Linked DNA regions of Homo sapiens: region 1 is linked to region 2. The links are contacts of gene promoters, found by promoter capture Hi-C in human tissues and cell types (Jung and others, 2019). All regions are on one chromosome and are shown on one strand. The core of a region is centred on a gene start or on the middle of the fragment in contact, and the rest is flanking DNA. Distances in the headings are between cores, read along the strand shown.

What was found. The method cuts DNA at HindIII sites, captures the fragments that hold promoters and counts their contacts. A contact is called where the count stands out against the background at its distance.
Region 1: a contact is called between a fragment that was not itself captured here and the fragment with the promoter of CATSPER3 in region 2, in 1 of the 25 tissues and cell types used here (IMR-90 fibroblasts).

The regions. Positions count from the first base shown.
Region 1 is chr5:135,345,477-135,349,339 of GRCh38, reverse strand. It overlaps MACROH2A1 (macroH2A.1 histone), which reads left to right. Exons shown (of 9, transcript NM_138610.3): 7 at 3,283-3,372. Among named protein-coding and RNA genes, the nearest start is that of MACROH2A1, 52 kb to the left of the region's middle. The HindIII fragment of the contact is 5,802 bases long and covers 1-3,863 here.
Region 2 is chr5:134,965,596-134,969,245 of GRCh38, reverse strand. CATSPER3 (cation channel sperm associated 3) reads right to left here and starts at 1,339. Exons shown (of 8, transcript NM_178019.3): 1 at 1,157-1,339. The coding sequence starts at 1,254. The HindIII fragment of the contact is 15,471 bases long and covers 1-3,650 here.

The sequences.
Region 1 (3,863 bases), core at 1,346-3,845, 380 kb before region 2:
TCCTTTTTAAACCAAATGAAAATTTGATAGAAAGGAAGTACTTATTTAGAGAAAAATAAATGAACAGCTAAGGGCTTGTCTTTGTCATAGCTGGGAGTGACTAAGGCCTGGGTTCATCCTGCCATTCAGGACATTTGGTGAAATGGGAATTATGAAACTTTCCAGGCAAAAGTATCTTACCCAGGTCCAGGGAGAGGAGAAAGTTGGCCTGCCTGCTGCAGCCTGAGGAAGGCCGTGCCCAGCAGGATTAGCCATGCCAGGAGGCAGAGTTGCAGCTTTGAGATAGGGCTGAAGCCTTGAGGAAGTAACAGGCAGACCCAGCTGTGCCACCCAGAAGAGCCCAGTCCTTCCTGAATTGTGACTGGAATGGGTCTCTTTGGAATAAGGATGGTGCTAATGCTTTTCCTCTGACATGTTCACCTACAACTCATTGATAGGCACAGGGTGGGGAATTATTAGCTTCCAAGCCACAGGAGCAATCTGGGCCCAGGACCCTGGCACACATCATTCACCGACACTGTAACACCTGCAGAAATCCTCAGCAGGTTCAGACACCCCAACTGGCCAAGGCAGAAAGACTGCCAGGTCAGAACCCAGTCTTCCAAAGCCCTTCAGGGCTTTTCTGCCCAGCGGACCAGTCCAAACCAGTATTGACCCCAGATATCTTTTACAATCCCAATGATAAACCAGATTCCTACATGGCCTCAATTGGTTCCAGCTCCCACTTTGATGTGTGAGAGGAGAAAAGAGGAAGCTAGTAATCACTCCATTTCTCATATTTGGTGTGAAGTCCTGAGACTGCTGGAAGAAGGAATCCGAGTGCAGGAATGCTTAGCCCCAGTGATTAACTTTTACCCATCAAAAGTTCTTTCTAACAGTGAAATAGACCACAGGCCTAGCCTGACATTTGTCCAAGCCTAAATTTTCGCTTAGGCTGTTTTGAACACTGATACTTATGCCTGCTTTCTAAGCATGAAATAATGTCCTTGTTCTCATGGGAGTAACACATGTTTATGCTTGGGGGCAAATAAGCCAATTGCTTTATGATTAACCCTGAAGTTAAGCCTAAAAAGCAAGAGTCTTACAATAAGAGTGTTGACAATATGGTTGAAAATGGGCCTGTTTCTTGTTAAAAAGTACATGTGTGTCTACATGAACATGTGCATACATATGTGTGTGTAGGAGTCAAGTCCTGACTGGGTTGATTGCCTGCAATCTAGGGTTCAGTTTTTAAGTTTGGGAAATGCATTTAAGTGTATTTTAACTTGGAAATTTCACTTTTACTTAAAGCAATATTTATAAGTAAAAATTTTAAACACTCTTCCTAAGATAAAACACCTTTAATTATAGATCAGCCCATTTTCTTAAATATTTTAGAAAGGAGTTGGTAATCATGATAAAGTAAAAACATTATTTTACCTTTCAAATTTCTCAGTTCTCACCAAAGAGTTAATCTGATAAAGACTGAGAATGCTAACTAGTCCAGCCTCCAGCATTTTTGTTGCCCTGCCTCAAGCTGGAGAATGGGTTTAAGACAGAAGGCTAGACTGGGCCCCAGGGGCAGCAGTGTGTGGAATCCAGCTGGTTCCGGCTCCAGATTCCTTTTTCTCAGCTGCAGGGATAGTTTAGGTGAACCTGTATTGGGGTCTCACTCGCCTGGGTTGCATCCACTTTGTAGTGGTGGAGTTGGGCTCTAAGCCCCCGGCCTGCTTCCTCCAGTGCATGCCCCATTCAGCTGCCACCTCTGATGCTGACTTTACTAGAAACATGCAGCAGCAACAGGTGTGACATTCTCACTCTGCCATTTAAAGCCTGTGCTGCTTTCCAGGACAGGTAGAGGCAGGAGGGCAGTCTGAGATCATGAAGGGTAACACAAAATCCCACCTCAAGGATGCTAAGTTTGTGCCACCCTCTCTCGGACACAGCTGAGAGCTCCCCTGGGCTATGGCTGCTGGTCATGTTCATCTGCACACCCCAGGTTTCCTACAGCGGGTGGGTACAGGCCCAGTCCTAGCCATTAGCCCTGGTTCTTATTTGGGACAAAGCCCAAGCTATTTACTCTTCTTCCCAGACACCTCCCGGGGTTAGTTCACCCCTGCAGAACAAACATTCAAAGGAGGCAAGTTTCACTAAGATAATTAACCCTGGTCATCGCAGGGTGACTCCAAAGAGAATTTGGGCTGGTGCATTCCGATGCACCTTGACCGTCCCATACCAGAATTGTGCCAGGTGCACCTGGAATTTTCCAAGACAGATGTGAATCTTAAGGGGAGTATTTTGTCCTCTTGTGAGGAAAAGTACTTTAAAATGTGCAAAACTGAGGAATCAGAGCTTAAGGAAGACTCAGACCCCATTCTGGCCAAACTTGAAAGGCTGATCTTGTTGCTAACTTTGATTGCCACTTGCTATCCCACATGAGCATCAACCCAGAGTTCTCATAGGTGTTGGTGATCTTGTTTGGGAACTTGGTTTTCACAGCAGGAACTGATTACTTAGCAAGTGCCCTAATTGAAGAAAACACATTGCTCCCAATCTCCATTGGCTTTTGTGAAAAATCTGGTCCTGAGCAGTTAGACATCCTCCTTTCCAAGCTTTTTATAGAACACAGATTAATCTTTAAGCTCTGCTTCTGATGTTGCCCTTCTTTACTGAAAACAATTCTGAATCATTAGTGTAATTAAGAAAATACCGTCTGAGGCCATTTTTATTTTGTATTTGCATATGACACCAAAGCTGCAAAACAGGAACTAAGCATGGTAATAATGCTGGTCCAAAGGTGGCCAGGTATGAACACTTCCTTCTAGGCCTGCTGCCAGGAGGAGAGCTGGCTTATTGATGGGAGCATTGTATGCTGCTGAAACCTCCTTACTTGGGGGTTCTCCCCAGAGACAGAGAAGAAAACCTAAGGCAGGCATTAGTCTTGGAAACCAGTACCAGCTAGTATCTCATGCCAATGAAAAGCATCCAGGACAAGCATGTTTGCAAAAAACAAGCATGTCCTGTCTCTTTCACATCTCTGGCACATCCATGATCACCCTGAGTCAGACCCAAATAAGGGGCAGCAGAGACAGCCAGATGAAGCAGCAATTTGAGGGTAGTAACTGGTGATGACAAAGCCCTTCTCAATTTTACTTTATTAACTTAGCCAAGGCTTAGTTCCTGTTTTGCAGCCTGATGGAAATTTAATAGATCATTTGAAGTATGTAATCACCTGACATGCTAAGTGTCTGTGTGTGCCGGAGACACAGAATGGCAACCTGACCCCACCCTGTCCTTGTCTAGGAAACACGCTGGAGAAGAAAGGTGGCAAGGAGTTTGTGGAAGCTGTCCTGGAACTCCGGAAAAAGAACGGGCCCTTGGAAGTAGCTGGAGGTGAGGTGGGAAAGCCACCGTGCTTATCTGGTTGTGACACATGCAGTATTAGGAAAGCCATTTTGTGAGAGGGCTTAGAATTCAGAGGTGTGTGGCAGCACAGCCGCATCTTCAAGATGGAGGCCAAGGACAGCCTGTAGCTTTACATCTTAGAGTTTCACCACATGCAGGTTGTCTGGGAAAATCACCTTTGCATTTTTTTTTATTACTTAAAATAGCTCCTATATGTTTGATGTCTAGATCACAAATTTTAAGAAATTATAGGAGCTGAGTTTGGTACATCTAAGAGCTGAGAGTGAGTGATACTGAGCCATCTGCAAAACTGCTGGTGAGAGATACAAATTAAAAATCTTCAGCCATCTGTGTGTGTAAGAGGAAACATATAAATACACATTTCTCATTTGCCAATTACACCTTCCCTGGTATAAGGGGAAGAAAACGACTTGGCATCTGATGTGGGGAGAATTATTGCTAAGACCTGGAGGCAGGGT
Region 2 (3,650 bases), core at 90-2,589:
AGAACCATTCATTCTCTGACCCAAGATAATATAACCTGAAATGAAATAACTTCAACTAAACATGTCTATCTCAGTATTTTTTCCAGCACTGAGAAGCTTGAAAACAACTTAAACATCTAACAAAAAGGACTGTGTAAGTAAATTATGGTATGTCCATCTTGTGAAATACAGGCACTAAAATATGTCTATGCATTTTTCAGGATTTAGAAAAATGTTTATGATCCATTTTTATATCTTTTGTTTTTGTGTGCAGCAAAACACAAAAACCAAAGATACAAAATTCTCTGTTCAAAATTATCTCACCTGTGCAAAAATCAGCAGTAGAAAAAATCAGCAGGAAATATGCCAAAATTTTAACAGTGTCTGTCTATGGATGGTGAGGTTATAGGTGATTCTTTTTCCTGTTTATTTCCATTTATCTGTGCTTTGCAATTTTTCTCAGAGTACGTATTACTGTTTCCCATTATATGTTACAAATGAAATGAACACATTCTCATAAGTTAAAAAAATATAGAATATATATTTTTCTTTTTCCTTTTCTTTTTTTTTTTTTCTGAGACAGAGTCTCGTTCTGTCACCCAGGCTGGAGTGCAGTGGTGCAATCTTGGCTCACTGCAACCTTCGCCCCCCAGGTTAAAGGGATTCTCCTGCCTCAGCATCCTGAGTAGCTGGGACAACAGGTGCACACCATCACTCCGGGCTAATCTGTGTATTTTTAGTAGAGATGGGGTTTCGCCACGTTGGCCAGGCTGGTCTCAAACTCCTGACCTCAAGTGATCCGCCCCAGCCTCTCAAAGTGCAGGGATTACAGGTGTGAGCCACCGTGCCCAGCCAGAATGTATATACTTTTCTAATATATCAAGATATGTAATTTTCATTATCTGATTTGAGATGGGGTCTATTATAAAAAAAGAGAAAAGCCTTCAGATTATCTAACAGTCAAACTGGTCAAACTGGTCATTCAAGTCTACAGGGCACATAAAGGTAATAGCATGCCAGCCTCACCAATCATAGAAACCAGATTGTCAAGGACATGCAACTTATTTTGGTAAGCAGACGAGTATCTGAGGGAAGAGGCTGAGAGAACACTGACACCCTGCCCTCACACTTCTACTAGCACATTTCTTAACAGGCAATGGAGATAGATAATATTTACTTAAATTTCTTGAATGTTGGGCAAAATCCCACCGATGTAGTGTCAACTGGTGAACTAGAAATGACTCTCGAGTGGCGCTGGTGACGGTGTTGAGACATTTTCCAAATTTTCAACTTTTATTCCTTGCTTTTAGCATCCAACAGAAAATCTCTGCTTAGGGATTTTCCTTAGCGTCTGGATTCTGAGAGGCAGCAGAGAAGGGGCCACGAAGGGAATCCTTGCTTTATGAGGTCACTCTTGGGCATTCTGTTGCATTACCAGTGTGTAGGCCCCTGAAGTGGGGAGCTCCCAAGTGGGTCTATCATGGATTCTCTCTTCCCAAGGAGACTGAGTGCCTCCATTCAGCAAAAAGGCTATGGGCACCCAGCAATCATGAGGCTCTGGGTTAAAGCTGGAAGTCACTAGAAACAGACCACACAAAGGCCCTCCCTTCAAGAAGTGCCCCCAGCTGATAGACACAGGCCCTTAATAATGTGTTAGAAAAAGTTAAGGGTCATATATAAGGGGGAAAAGCAAGTTCTCTGGGCTCTAAGAGAAAGAGAGCACATCCAGGGCACAGCACTGGAAAACACCTGGAAGGACAAGAAAAGATTGTGATGGGTTTGACTTAGAACAAAAGAAAACAAGAGAAGCAAAGAAGGTAATAGTGAGGTAGGGATAGTGGCTCACACTTATAATCCCAGCAACTTGGGAGGCTAAGGTGGGAGGATCACTTGAGGCCAGGAGTTTGAGATCAGCCTGAGCAACATAGTGAGACCCCCATCTCTAAAAAAAAAATAAGAAATAAAAATCAGCGACGAGGCATAGCGGCTCATGCCTGTAATCCCAGCACTTTGGGAGGCCAAGGCAGGCAGGTCGCTTGAGGTCAGGAGTTTAAGACTAGTCTGGCCAACATGGTGAAACCCCATCTCTTACTAAAAAAAAATACATAAATTAGCCGCGCATGGTGGCAGTTGCCTGTAATCTCAGCTACTCAGGAGGCTGAGGATGGAGAATCACTTGAACCCAGGAGGTGGAGACTGCAGTGAGCCAAGATCGTGCCATTGCACTCCAGCCTGGGCGACAAGAGCGAAACTCCATCTCCAAAAAAAAAAAAAAAGGAAATAAAAATTACCCATGGGAGGCTGAGGCAGCAAGATAACTTGAGCCCAGGAGTTCAGGACTAGCCTGAGCAAGATAGTGAGACTGTCTCTACAAAAAATAAAAATAAAAAAAATTAGGTGGGTGTGGTGGCATGCACCTGTAGTCCCAGCTACCAGAGAGGCCAAGGTAGGAGGATCACTTTAGTCCAGGCGTTGGAGGTTACAATGAGCTGTGATCACACCACTGCACTCCAGTCTGCATGATAGAATGAGACCCCATCTCTTAAAAAAAAAAAAAAAAAGAAAAAAAGAAAGGAGGCAATATAAACCCTGAGTTGGCTAACTGCAGGCATAGGATGGGATGTGCACATATAAACCACCTAAACAGAATATAAAGAGTGAGCACATGTGGCAGAGATGTTTTAAGTACAAAAGTAATAGGGATTTTTGCTCTGTTCAACTCTCAGGATTAATATATTCTCCCCACTCACCTTCTCCTAACTCCTTTGGCTTTCAGGGCAAATCAGGACAGTGGGATCTGGGTAGCCCTGTGTTGTATTAAATGCTCAGTGGCTAAATTGGTCAATCTCCTGGACACCAAAGTTCTTGGGCTGTAAGAAAAGGAAGTAACTACCCCACCATCTCTGCTGTCCCTGGTATTCTACAACAAGTATATATGACCATTCATGGTAGGAAAATACTTTGTGGGCAACCAATATACTGAACTGGGAAATAACATCTTACGTACTCATTTTCTCCATTTAAAATCATCAACAGCAAAGTTTTAAGAATCACTGTGATTAATGTCCCCACAATTCAAACTTTAGCCCCATCTTCTCCGTCTTCATTGTTTCCCTCAGGGATCAGCTCCTCCTATAACTCCTGCTATGTCCTTTAGTTATATGCCCCTAACGTCTCAGGGCTCCTGCCCAACATCCATCCACAGGGGCCTCCTGGGGCAGCTGCTCTAAGACAGCCCGCATCAGCTCTCCATCTGTTTCTACCTGCCCTGATATGTCACTGTGCTCAATCCCCTAGGGCACACAGAAGGCCCTCAGTAAGTGTGTGCCGTATGAATATACAAAATAATGGCATCAGGGATCCCTGTGCTCATTCACATAGCTAGGGACAACAGGATTTCATCTCCAGGAAACTCAGTAGTATACTTTTGTGACTTCTCTCTTTAAGCACCAAAGCATACTTTCAGGGAAAAACAAAAAAGAGATTAAAAATGTAAAGAATTCTTTCATGCTGCTTGGAGAGGTGAGGGAAGGTAGCCCACTGAAAGTGACAGAGAAGAGCCCAGTTGTTCTTGGTGTACTACATCAGCACAGCCACAGATGAATGCTGTTTCTGAAGCCAATGATGAAGACTTTAGTCTGGAAATGAAACTCCAGCTGAGTGAGTGGAAA